4 separate regions of the Homo sapiens genome follow, and all the other regions are linked to region 3. The links are contacts of gene promoters, found by promoter capture Hi-C in human tissues and cell types (Jung and others, 2019). All regions are on one chromosome and are shown on one strand. The core of a region is centred on a gene start or on the middle of the fragment in contact, and the rest is flanking DNA. Distances in the headings are between cores, read along the strand shown. Region 1 overlaps ATP5MG (ATP synthase membrane subunit g). Region 2 overlaps UBE4A (ubiquitination factor E4A). Region 3 holds the start of PHLDB1 (pleckstrin homology like domain family B member 1). Region 4 overlaps KMT2A (lysine methyltransferase 2A).

Region 1 (3,284 bases), core at 404-2,903, 200 kb before region 3:
ACACGGTGAAACCCCATCTCTACTAAAAATACAAAAACTTAGCCGGGCGTGGTGGCGGAAGCCTGTAGTCCCAGCTACTTGGGAGGCTGAGGCAGGAGAATGGCAAGAACCTGGGAGGCGGAGCTTGCAGTGAGCCGAGATCGCGCCACTGCACTCCAGCCTGGGTGACAGAGCGAGACTCCATCTCAAAAAAAAGAAAAAGGAAAGAAAAGAACTGGAACTTGGATTTTATTTGCATGATCCAAGCACAGAGTACAAAAAGCCTAAACAATTGCTAGTTTTAGAGCCTACATCCTGGGAAGTGTGGTTGTTTTTCAGAAGACTTCCATAAATTTCTGGTCTAATTTGATGGGGAAAATTCACTTCCAGAAGTGCTAAAAGGAAAAGGTCCAGTTTTGTTATGGAAAGTTATTTTTTCAACTAGAATTTCAAGATCCATATTATTGCTCCATGTATTAATAACAGTGCTTTCCTGAGCCATATGTGCATATTTCTCTTTGGGACAACAAAATGTTGATATGAATACCAGATACTTAGTCAGAGTTAAGTCAAATACTGAATGAATAAAAATGAGGTCTAAAGGGGAAGACAGCACTTCATCTTTCAGCAGATTTTCTTTTGCCAGACAAAAATGTCTATTCAGAGACTCGGCCTTCCTATAGCCATCCTATCTAAATGCGCCAGCTATATCCAGGATGTGGATTGTTTTAGGGCTCATAAAGTGTCTCATAAACTTATAATGAAAGGGTTAAGTCAGTTCAGGTCTTTAAAGAATGCTTTGAAAGAATTTATATAAGCTTTGACTACTTACCTTACAAAATTGAAAGTTCAAGGGTTCTCAGCAGTTGAAGAGAAGTAATGTTAGTAATTCTCAACTTTGACTAAAACTGCCTTCTAGTTTGAATAGCATCTTTTATGTTCTTTGTCTCCTTAATTCTGGAAAAGAATAGTTTCAAATATATATATATATATATAATTATATATATATATAAAAGGTACCTTAAAATGTATGCTTCTTTTTTCAGGAAGCTGTGCTGAATGGTTTGGTGGCCACTGAGGTGTTGATGTGGTTTTATGTCGGAGAGATTATAGGCAAGCGGGGCATCATTGGCTATGATGTTTGAAGACCAATCTTTAACATCTGATTATATTTGATTTATTATTTGAGTGTTGTTGGACCATGTGTGATCAGACTGCTATCTGAATAAAATAAGATTTGTCAAAACTCAGTGTTTTCTCCATCAGATACTCCATGAAAGGTCACAATTTCTCTTGATATTAAGCTGGGTTGTCTTTAAACAACCCTAAATACACGTCTGTTTAGCCCGCAATTGGAAAGGATATATGTGGCAATATTAACCTGGTACATGAATATATGGGGATAACATTTTAATTTGAAGGTTTGGAATATATATATTTAAGCTTTATTTCCAGAACAGTGAGGGTTAGGTCTTGGGAAAACTATAACTTGCCAAAGTAGAAGAAATAGTAGTACCATATGCCAAAGTGATAGAGATGAATCATGTCAGTAGTTAGAATAACATTTCAACTGTTTTCTTTGCTAAAATCACAGAAAGACCCTATTGACAACATCTATGTCTGTAAAAATGTTAGAGTACTTGTCATCTTGAATATAGCCTCCCCAAGAGAGAACAGGGTGGTATTCTAAGTATGTTTCTTTGTAACATCTTTAGCAGTAGGACAGAGCCATACATGTGAAATCTGATTTTTATGTGTGTTATTCGTTTGTCTGGTTTTACTACCTTTGCAAAAACAAAATACCCCAAAGATATTTAAACAAGGTTATAATTTAGCATCTTCCCTGGATCTAAATAGTATATTATATCCTGAAATAAATGAAATGATTGCTATAGTCTGTCTTCTGGAGCGATTTTATTGGGTATATAGGAGAGATTGATCATTCCTTAGCTTTTCCCCGGGATCTTAGAATCCTTAATTGACTCATTGGTACTTTCCTAAATCCACTGTTATTCTTGCAGCCACAGCAAAACATGCAATACCAACTGATGATAACCAAAAGGTGGTTGCATATTTATTACAAAAGCATTATGGCTCACAATACAGTATTAATCCTTTAATAGTGTTGAACCTTTATCCGGTCAATCCCAAATTTACCCACTGCATTTAGAACACTGCTATTTTAGCCTAATAAACGTCACAGCTTATCTAAGTGATAGGCAAGAAAGTCTCCATAGAGACTGCCACGCTGCTAAAATGTGAAGTAATGCCTAACTTACTCCTGCAATAAACAGGTGGTCAAAACTGAAATGACCTCTTTTCAAAAAGTACTCAAAAAGACTGATATGAGAAAGGCAATCAGTTTCTTTTTCATACAGTGCATGATTATTCAAATTAACCAGAAAAAAACAAGGTAGGAGATCAGCTAGTACTAGTTAAAACCTACAGACACCTAGTTGATTAATGATATGTAATGTGATTGTTTTTAACGCCACGGTCACACCAGAAGGTCCTCAAAATAAACATTTACTACTCACTTCACTGCAACTTCCTCCTGCTTTGCCATACACAACACCTCTGGTCTCCCCTGTGGCTAATAGTGCATGTACGGAATTTTCTTAGGTTAAAATAGCAGTGAGCTCCTTGAAGTGGCCACTTGACTTCACCAGGCTTGTTTCTCTTTTTTTTTTTTTTTTTTTTTGTCCTCATCAACCCCAAATATCTTCTAACAGAACTGTTGAGGCTTTCAATGAATGTGTGCTGCCAAGTGTTTGGCATTGGCAAACTCGGTGTTTATTGTGCACCTCCTAAGTTCTAGGCACAATTAAAATGGCAGAAACATTCATGAACAAGACTGTTACCTGTTTCACAGAGTTTGATCTGGTAAGACAGGTAATTAGGCATGCAATTACTGTAATAAGATGTGAGAAGTACTATAATGAGGGAAGGGGAAGGTATACTTGAAAGGCTAACCCAGGGCAGGGTGCAGTGGCTCACACCTGTAATCCCAGCACTTTGGGAGGCCAAGGCGGGCAGATCATGAGGTCAGGAGTTTGAGACCAGCCTGGCCAATATAGTGAAACCCTGTCTCTACTAAAAACACAAAAATTAGCCAGGCGTGGTGGCACACACCTGTAGTCCCAGCTACTCGGGAGGCTGAGGCAGTAGAATCACTTGAACCTGGGAGGTGGAGGTTGCAGTGAGCCGAGATCACACCACTGCACTCCAGCCTGGGCGACAGAGGGAGACTCTGTCTCAAAAAAAAAAAAAAGAAAAAAGAAAAGCTAACCCAGACGAGAAGGACG
Region 2 (3,042 bases), core at 519-3,018, 220 kb before region 3:
AAACTTAACAGTGGCAGCCAGGTGCTAATGATCTTCTAATAATTATATGATAATAAAGCTTATTCTTGCTATTCTGAGTTGGATGAGCAGTAAACTTAAGTCAATGTTATTTCTCATTTCAAGTTTTCTCACTCATAGCTTCTAGTCCTCTTTTCCAAAGGAAGATACTGTGACTTGTAGAATTGCTTCCCTGATTTTTTTGATGCATAGGCTAAAGGAAGTGGAAACTCTGTGTACAAAAGTGAAGATTTGCTGCACAATGAAGAGAATGACCCACAATTCCCTGAGCCGTATCAGTGATAAGTAGAGAGAAGCCATTTCTTCACTGAGCTGAGCATACCTAATGAGAAGTCATAAGTCAACAAGTATTATGCATACACTGTATGCGTCATGGGTAATGTAGCATAATTATATTCTAGTCTTTACCCTCAGAAAGCTTGAAAAGGCAAGTTTATTCCACATGAAACTGTCAGAGAATAGGAAGCAGTAAATAATGCATTATTACAGAGAAGTAAACAATGGCTAAGCATTCAATAGAAACTTAAGTGCTCACCGTCATATTTGGTAAGCTGTCAACTCAAGAGTTAAATGATGTACCCTGCATCACCACCCCACCCCCCGCCCAGCCGCACCAAGAAACTGACAAACTTAAAACTGCAGAAGTGGATCCTTTTTTTTCCTGTAATATGGTTTAGGGTGGATTTTGATTCTTATGTGGAGAGAACAGAGTCATAAATTTGGAGTTAAGCTTATCTGCTCATCTTGCTTTTTGCCCATTTTGCAGAATGAAGAATCCCCACCTGAGGGCCAAACTAGCAGAGGTGTTGGAAGCAGTGATGCCCCACCTGGATCAGACCCCAAATCCCTTGGTATCCAGTGTGTTCCACCGGAAACGTGTGTTCTGCAACTTTCAGTATGCACCCCAACTTGCAGAGGCTCTAATCAAGGTTTTTGTGGACATCGAATTTACAGGTAAAGCAGTCATGAAGCTGAGCCCAGAACTGGGAAGCTGATACCAGTGGAGTTTCATAGTTTGATCCGTATTTGGATATCAAAGAAATGTCAAGCCATTACTTATTGAATACCTACTATATGCCAGGCTTGATGATAAGTGCTTTTTTTTTTTTTTTAACATTATCCCATTGTCACCATTGGAAAAGTTTCACTCTATTATCCCTGTTTTATTTATTTTTTATTTTTTAATTATTCTTGTTTTACATATGAAGACATGACTGCCCAAAAGATCAGTTTGTCCATGTCATAACAAACTACCAAGTGGTAGAATCAGGTCTGTGTCACCTAAAGAAATCTACATATTCAACACCCTTATTATGTTGCATCATCAAATCAGACTCAAATTAGACTATTTGGGTCTTTATATTTCTCTGCCTTAAAATTACAGAATAGTGCATAAAGAGGCAGTGTATTGGTTGAGAGATTCTTTTATCTTAACCAGACTATCTAACTCTCCAACAGTCTAATGGTTCGATTAAAAATACCAGCAGGCGGACAGGCACAGTGGCTCATGCTTGTAATCCCAGCGTTTTGGGAGGCCAAAGTAGGCAGATCACTTGAGCTCCTGAGTTTGAGACCAGCCTGGCCAACATGGTGAAACCCATTCTCTACAAAAATACAAAAATTACCCAGGCATGGTGGCAGGTGCCTGTAATCCCAGCTACTTAGGAGGCAGAGGCACGAGAATTGCTTGAATTCGGGAGGCAGAGGTGGCAGTGAGCTGAGATCGCACCACTCCAGCCTGGATGACAGAGCAAGAAATCCCTCTCAAAAAAAAAAAAAAAAAAAAAAAACCAGCAGGCAACATTCCCTCTCTATCTAACCCTGAGCCCCTGTGTTTGTTTAAACAGTACCCTGTCTCAATCAGTAAATAAGATATGTTAAGAAGTTGTTGAAGACCATTTTTTAAAGGGATATCTACCATCCAATGATAAATACAACTAACATTTAAAGAGGCATTTAACATTTTACTGGCCGCCTTTCCATATTTGGATTCTGGTTTTTTTTAATTCGCTCACCTATCAACCTTAGTTTCCTCATCTATAAAATGGGTCAAAGTGATGATTAAGTGAAATAATGCATGTAAATCTTTATAATACATAAGAAATTGTATAATAAATCATTGCAGTTATCTCGTTATGTGACCATACAACCAAAGTGTTGTAATGGAGTACAATTTCTGTTTTATTTCTGAGGAAGTGGAAGCTGAAGAAGATTAAGAGACTTAGATTAAGCAGAGCCAGAATGAAAACGTAGGTCTTTTGACTCCAAATCCTACACTCTTCCTTTATTATGACCCAGCCTGTGGAGCTCTAGTAATACCTTTGGTATTTCAAAAGCAGTATAAGCCTCAGATTTTTAGCTCCTGACCTGATTTTTCAGAGTAATCAAGAACCTGTTGGCTACACAGTTTGGGATATTGTCTGTGAAGAATGTGGGAATTGCTTAGTGTCCCGTCCTGCACATGGCTTTCACTGCCATAATGGCCAGCCCTGAGCCCTCATTTAAAGCCTGAGAAGTACTCATGTTTGGATATGGAAACATTTGTTTCCCTTAACTTTTATTTTACAGCTTGGTACTTGTCTCTTGCAGAGTAAGGTATCCTTTATCTCTGTCTCCCCCTTACTTCATCAGTAAGGAAATGAGCAAACACTTGGCGATAACTCTAGGCCTTTAGAAACTCCAGGGCAGATTTTGTTAGTAGCCTTAACACACTCAAAAGCAAATGACTACAAAGCAAATGGCTACACATAAGCATAAACTCTTCCTCTTATGGCACCGCCTTTGCTGATATTTCGCTCTTGCCTTACTCCAGGAGACCCCCATCAATTTGAACAGAAGTTTAATTACCGCCGTCCCATGTATCCTATCCTAAGATACATGTGGGGGACAGATACCTATCGGGAGAGCATTAAGGTGAGAGAGTTTTTGATGAAACCTGTTGCTTTATATAAGCCCTAATGAGTTGTAATTCAGTACTAAAATGGTTTTCTTGTGGGCTGGGACTTACAGGATTTGGCTGACTAT
Region 3 (3,240 bases), core at 465-2,964:
GCAGGCTTGATTATTCCCTGAAATTCCTCCTGCCCAGTACAGTAAAGAGGAGCTGGGGGCCGTGAAACAGAATGAAGTGAAAAGCCTCTGAGGTACTGCAATCTGGACCCCTCCCCTCAGTGCTGGGTCTTGGCACATGGGATACAACAGTTTGGGTTTTTTCCTTCTTCCTTTTTTTACATACCCAAATAGCCTGAATATTACTGTTGTGATCTGCCTCATGAAGGTTCATCAGAATTACTTTCATGACTTCAAACAGTATGAAGAGAGGAAAAACTAGAGTCTCGCTCCTCAAATCCTAGGACTTCCTGGTACCCACAGCATATTCTGGATCTTGAGTGTTCCACCTCCATTAGCTATAGCAGGTGGCAGCAAAGGGCGGCCTCTCCCCTCCCCCTCCTTGTCTGCTGCTTGGCCCCGGTCAGCTTCAGTCTCCAGCCGTGGGGGGTCCCCTGCTAAGGCCAGCCCTGTCAATGAGTGACCAGAGATTCCTGTAGTTCAGCCTCCTGCTGTTCCTGGGTTAGGGAGAGACGGCACAAACTAAACTCATTGAATTAGAACAGCACTTGTCCATCTCAAAGAGGATAAATTATTTTTTGCTATCCACCCCAGCTGGAATTTAGACCAGACTTACAGGCTTTCTGCTCCTTCCTTCAGTGAAGAAGAGTCTCCAGGGTCCCTCTAGTGCAGGTCAAAGAAGTCCAGTCCAGCTGAGTTCAGCTCCCTAGGGCCTCCCCAGCCAGTCTCCTGGACCAAGAGCTGGCTTTGCAAGGTAAGGATCCACTGTCAGCGTTGGATTTCGGAGTGGAGGTTGAGATGGAGAATGACTTCAACCTAGCTCAATTTGGGGGCTGCTTTTAGGTGTTTAGTGCCTCCTTCTCTTCCTTATTAACTCCCACTCCTACTACAGGTTGGTGTGCTCAATTGTATGTCTATAGCCTGCCTCCATCTCCCAATCTGTAATCCAGCAAGTCTGTCGGGGTGGAGGGGTGTGGAGCTCCATGGGGGCAAGATGATAATTCCATTCGGTTTTCCTGTGCTTTGGAGTTTGCATGACACTTTAACGAGTCTTCTTGTGCCTATCCTTAAGAAAGTCTGTGAAGCCTGATGTGCGTGGCTATCAATGTCATTTACAGCTCTTCATGGTGGGGCTTGGAATAGGGCGAGGGGAGGAGGTGACAGGGAGAAGACCTGGGTACCCTCAGTAGATGTTCTGGAGATGTTGAGAGCATGTTGTAGGGGCTTCGATTTGGGAGGTTCAGTGGGAGCCCGTGGAGGTTTCAGGCATCTAAGGCAAAAAGAAAGAGGGGAGAGTTTGGGGGAGGGAGAACGGATTGTCAAAAACACCCTCTCAAAAGCGTGTTAAAGCCTGGGAGTGGAGGGTGGTCTAGGAGAGTCGGGAGGGCAGGGTGGGAGGAGAGGGGGATGTGTGGTGGTGGTGGTGGTGGTGGTGGTGGTGGTGGTGGTGGTGGTGGTGGTGGTGGTGATGGTGGAGAGCCCAGCTGCAAAGATGAACAAAGCGGGCGCTGTGCAGGCTGGGGGAGGTGCTGCTGTGGGAAAGGGTGGGTGGGGGGACCTTGGGCTCCAGCCCCACAAGGGCGTCTTCTTTGGCTGGCCAGGCGGACGGGACGGGGGACGGGGGCGGGGACTGGCGGGAGGGGGGCGGGACAGGCTCGCTCTCCTCCTACTTAGCGAGCTCCCGGGGAAAAGCAACGGTGTCCTCCTAAGCCTGAGGCCACCGCGACCGAGCCGAGCCAGGCTAAGGGACCAGTGTCTCCCTGCCCCCCCCCCACCTCTAGGTAAGAGCGCCCCGTCCCACTACACTTGCGGGTCCCATTCGCTGCGGTGCTAGGACTGGATAAGGGGAAGTCCCCGGGGCCTGGCGAGAGCCCTGAGATCAGCTCTAGGCTAGGGAGCTCGGCAGAAACCCGTGGGGGAGAGAGGGCACCCCAGGTGAGTGCGTGGGGGCGAAAGGAGCGTTATGGGGAGTTTTCCTGTGAGCCTCTTGCTTTTGCCTTCCTCGGCCGCTGCCAACGCCACCGCCAGAGGGGGCCGTGACGCTCTCCCCCCCTTGGAGAAACTCTGATCCTGGCCCTATCCAGACTCTCCCGCCGGCACCCAGGCGGCCGGGCGGACACTCGCGGGGTATCGGGCGGCGAGCGCGCGCGCGGGTTTTCGTCCTCCAGCGCCCCACACCTCCCCCTCTCCGCCCACAGCAGGACCTTGGGGCGGGGGTATCTCCTGTGACGTCTCCCCGCCTGTCCCCAGGCCGGCCGCCTTGATGGACCAGGAAGGGATTCGGAGTCCGGCTCAGAGTCTTGAGCGTCTAGGAGGGCTGCCTGGGGGTGTCCAGGAGATGGGAAGCCCGCCTGGGGCCTCCCAGGCACTCCCCAAGGCCCCACGTCCTCGGGGGCCGGGGAGGCCGCCTGGGGCGCCTTGCCACGCCCGCGCGGTCCCTATTGGAATCCCTAGCGGAGTTCCCCGAGCGGAGGCTGACCCAAGTCATCCGGGCTCCCCCGGGATAGGGAAGTGCGGGCGGGCGGCTGGGTAGGGGCGCCGGCGCAGGGTGGCCGAGTCGCCCGCTAGCGCTTCCGCCGAGGCAGGCTCGAGTGGGGACTTGGCCGGGCGACCGCACAGCCCTGCCGGGGACCCACGGCTCTGGGGCGGGGCTGCATTCTGGGCCGTTAGCTCAGCGGTCCTGGAGCCTCCCGAGGCTGACTCATCGGGCGGCGGGCTCACCCCCCAGCCGTCAAACGCAAACGCAGGCGCCCCACCACGCCGGGCTCCCACGCGGCACACACGCACGCCTCCGCGACACTTCGCACACCTACGTCCCTGCGTCACGCCACCCAGACACACCCGGACCCGCCCACACGCCGAGGCCTTCCCACGCACTCCATGCCTTACGCCTCACAGGAAAGCGCCCCGCGCTCACGCAGCCCCTCACACCCGCAGCCCCGCTTACACGCGCCCCAGCTCACACATGCACCCCAGTCACACAGCCTACCTCACACACGCACCCCAGTCACACACACAACCCAGCTCACACACGTACCCGTCACACATGAGGCCCCAGCTCACACACGAAGCCCAGCTCACACACGCAGCCCCAGCTCTCACACACACACCCCAGTCAAACACGAGGCCCCAGCTCACACACGAAGCCCAGCTCACACACACTGCCCCAGTTACACAGCCCAGCTCATGCAAGCAGCCCGTCACACACACAGCCCAGCTCAC
Region 4 (3,140 bases), core at 64-2,563, 160 kb before region 3:
CATATGTTATTTTCAGGGATTAAGAAAGGTTAAATTACTAATGAGTCTGGCATGATGTACCTACATTTTAATCAGATTCTTAACCCTGTAGGCACTAGTAGGAAAGAGGATGCCACAGAGTTCACTGTTACAAAGTATTTCCTTGGATCTTATCTAGACTGGTTTATGAAACTTGATGAGTAAAATATTGTCGTGGAGTAAATCTCAGACTCGTGATTTTTGTGGACTCTGAGGTTGTTGAAGACAAGACAATCAGATGAAATTATTGATTGCTCCTAAGTTGTATCGGCTTTGAGACACAGACTGAATTAAAGTTAGCTTTCAGATCTGAGTTAACTTTTGATTAGAAAGACTTTAGGAGGTTCTGGAAATTGTTGAGTTAATTAAGAATACCCTTGTAGGCTCCACTATTTCTTGAGATTTTCAGGAATTGTCTAGGCTTCTAGAGTATTTTCAGAATAAGATAAAATAGCTTTTCTGGAAAAAGTAGTTTGACTTTAGTTTCCAGGACCTTCGTATTCAAAATACAGTATGTTCTTTACTAGATCTACATGTGGCATGCTAGAGAAAATGCTATCTTTTATTAAGAAAAAGGAATCTTAAGTCCTTTACCTGGACCCAGATGGCTTCATTGATCACATCAGTATGAGGTTACGCAGACAAAGGGCTATTTTTGTTGTTGTTATTGTCATTTCATTGGTTGTTGAAGAAGGCCTGGGAGAAGGAAGTACAGGATCTTTTATGGCATGCATTAAATAAAGCTGGAGGCCTGCACTCTTATACCTGAGTGGGTGGTTTTATGGCCTAATTCTCTAATTGCTGGCATTTATGACAGTGTGGATGCTACTGGCCCTGTGGCTGAGGTAGATTATGCTGGGAATAGGGAGGAAAAAGGGGTCCTTTTGTTAGCCTTTTCATTTTGCCCCTCAATAAAGTCTCTGCAAAAACCCTGAGGAAATACAGAGACACTTGGACTGAGGGAATGACTTCCCATAAAATGGTTCTTTATGTTTTTAAAATGATGAGCCGCTTTTCTTGACCTATCCAAAGAAATCCATACCACCACTGTTAAATATTTCAATGAGTTTTTTACCTTGTCAGGTTACACACCAGGGGAAGCCAACCATGAGACTGTAGCTGCTGCCAAACATTCGCTTCTAAAGACTTAAGACATTTGAAAGAAGAATTTTGTTACGTGATTTGTAATTGTTGTGGATGATATAAATCCCCTTGAAGGATTAGTCCAAAACTTCTAAGAGGCCAAGCTTGGTTTAACTTTTAGATGTTGAATTGAATGTATTGCCCTAATGAGTTTTAGTTTTAAGGAAACAACAAAGATATAAGAGTTAGTTGGCAGTTTTGTGTGCAGTGTATGAAAATTCCCCTTCCCTTGAAATGAGTAGTTGTTTTTCTATTTGACAAATAGACTGAAGGGATTTCCCCAGATATCTTACCTTCAATTATTGCTGCAGCAGTACCCTGTGAAGTACCAGTGGGCAGCATCGGTCCAGTAGCATTTATTTCAGGAGCTGGAGTTTCTTCCGTATATAGTGTTTTATCCATTTTCTTGCATTTCTGGTTTTGTGTTTTGTTGGGATGTTTGGGTATAGATGTTTTGATGTCTTTCAGCAACAAAAGATATGAATCTTTCTAACATTCATACTGTTTTAGAGAGATCCACTTGTATTATCTATGCTTTGCTGAAGCATCATTGTTTCATTCTTATTTTACAGCATCAAGGTAATGGTAGCTTTCTGTCTTGAATTAGGAGAGTGATATTACTTGTGAGAAGGGTTTTGGAGAATAGTTTTTTCTTTAGGCTGTCCTTTATACTATCTCAGTTCTAAACACTAGGGAAAAGTTAATTCTTATCTCTAATAAATATCCTACACCTAGAGAAAGAAATATTTACACATGCCCATATTCAACTTCTGTCCATCCATGAGGATTGACCACTTTTTAGATCAAACACAAACATTGTCCCTAGATTATTGCCTTTAATTATAAGCAGTAAAACCTTGTGGATAACATCTCTTTAAGCTTAGCTAATGAGGAAATCCTTTTGTAATCTCTTTGGCTAGGATTTTTTATTTGTGCATATATAAATACCTTTACAGAAGAAAGGGAGAATCTCATAATCTAATCTGTAGTGGTGTGAGATCGTTTAGCATAGTAATTAAGAGTTGTTAAGACCATGGGCTCTGGATTTAAACTGCCTGAGTTCAAATCTAAGCTCAGCCATCTTGAAAAAGTTTTTTTTGTGTTTTGTTTGGTTTGTTTGAGACAGGATCTTGCTTTGTTGCCTAGGCTAGAGTGTAATGGCACAAACATTTCATTTCAGCCTCAACCTCCAGGGCTCAAGCAATCCTCTTGTCTCAGCCTCCTAAGTAGCTGGGACTACAGGCATGCACCACCACACTCAGCTAATTGTTTTATTTGTTGTAGAGATGGGAGTCTCACCATGTTGCCCAGGTTGGTCTTGAACTCCTGGCCTCAAGTGGTCCCCCTACCTCAGCCTCCCAAAGTGTTGGGATTACAAATGTGAGGCACTGCACCCAACCAGAAAAGTTTTTGAACCTCTCCATACCTCTGTTTCTTCATTTGTAACTGAGAGGTACTCATGCTTCATAGTCTCATTGTGAGGCTTAAGTGAGATCATGCATGTAAGCACTTAGCATTTTGCCTGGCACATAGGAAGCCCTAATTGTTAGAACCAAGAGATTGAAAGGAGAGCAGGGTTATAATCTTTTTTTTTCATCAAAATAACTGGTTTTTATTACATTAAGTTATACCTGTATATGTATGCATACATACACCTATTTGAGTGCTATAATCTTAGAATGTTCTTGATATTAGTCTGAGTGTCAAGTTCTTCTATAAACTAGGTGGAACCAAATTGAAGGCCAGCCACCCGTCTTGGTAACAACATTAGTGTCCAACTAAAGCATATTAAAGATAAGGCAAAAAAGAAGAAAGAGAACAAGATGGTAAATAGGCAAGTAAGATACCGAGGAACACAGTGCCTCCATGAGTTGCTAATTATCAGGCCAAGGCAGCTATAATGGGGTTGCTACCTGTTGTCTCTATAACTAGTGTTCCTGATATTTTTATGAGGAGGCACTTGGTCGTTCCTTATAACA

What was found. The method cuts DNA at HindIII sites, captures the fragments that hold promoters and counts their contacts. A contact is called where the count stands out against the background at its distance.
Region 1: a fragment that was not itself captured here is called in contact with the fragment with the promoter of PHLDB1 in region 3 in 1 of the 25 tissues and cell types used here (pancreas).
Region 2: a contact is called between a fragment that was not itself captured here and the fragment with the promoter of PHLDB1 in region 3, in 1 of the 25 tissues and cell types used here (liver).
Region 4: a fragment that was not itself captured here is called in contact with the fragment with the promoter of PHLDB1 in region 3 in 1 of the 25 tissues and cell types used here (hippocampus).

What each region holds. Positions count from the first base shown.
Region 1 is chr11:118,407,975-118,411,258 of GRCh38, forward strand. ATP5MG (ATP synthase membrane subunit g) reads left to right here. Exons shown (of 3, transcript NM_006476.5): 3 at 1,026-1,873. The coding sequence ends at 1,124. The region is part of intron 3 of LOC100131626 (a long non-coding RNA gene); the gene reads right to left. Among named protein-coding and RNA genes, the nearest start is that of ATP5MG, 8.0 kb to the left of the region's middle. The HindIII fragment of the contact is 5,814 bases long and covers 1-3,284 here.
Region 2 is chr11:118,381,805-118,384,846 of GRCh38, forward strand. It overlaps UBE4A (ubiquitination factor E4A), which reads left to right. Exons shown (of 20, transcript NM_001204077.2): 13 at 785-972; 14 at 2,831-2,931; 15 at 3,028-3,042. All of the region lies in intron 3 of LOC100131626 (a long non-coding RNA gene), which reads right to left. Among named protein-coding and RNA genes, the nearest start is that of ATP5MG, 18 kb to the right of the region's middle. The HindIII fragment of the contact is 4,714 bases long and covers 1-3,042 here.
Region 3 is chr11:118,605,901-118,609,140 of GRCh38, forward strand. PHLDB1 (pleckstrin homology like domain family B member 1) reads left to right here and starts at 1,715. Exons shown (of 23, transcript NM_001144758.3): 1 at 1,715-1,799. It overlaps LOC124902765 (a long non-coding RNA gene), which reads right to left and starts at 2,611. Exons shown (of 2, transcript XR_007062908.1): 1 at 2,223-2,611; 2 at 1-1,288. RefSeq lists silencers at 2,207-2,296, 2,357-2,426 and enhancers at 2,554-2,848, 2,886-3,240. The HindIII fragment of the contact is 15,479 bases long and covers 1-3,240 here.
Region 4 is chr11:118,442,314-118,445,453 of GRCh38, forward strand. The region is part of intron 1 of KMT2A (lysine methyltransferase 2A); the gene reads left to right. Among named protein-coding and RNA genes, the nearest start is that of KMT2A, 7.4 kb to the left of the region's middle. The HindIII fragment of the contact is 5,184 bases long and covers 1-3,140 here.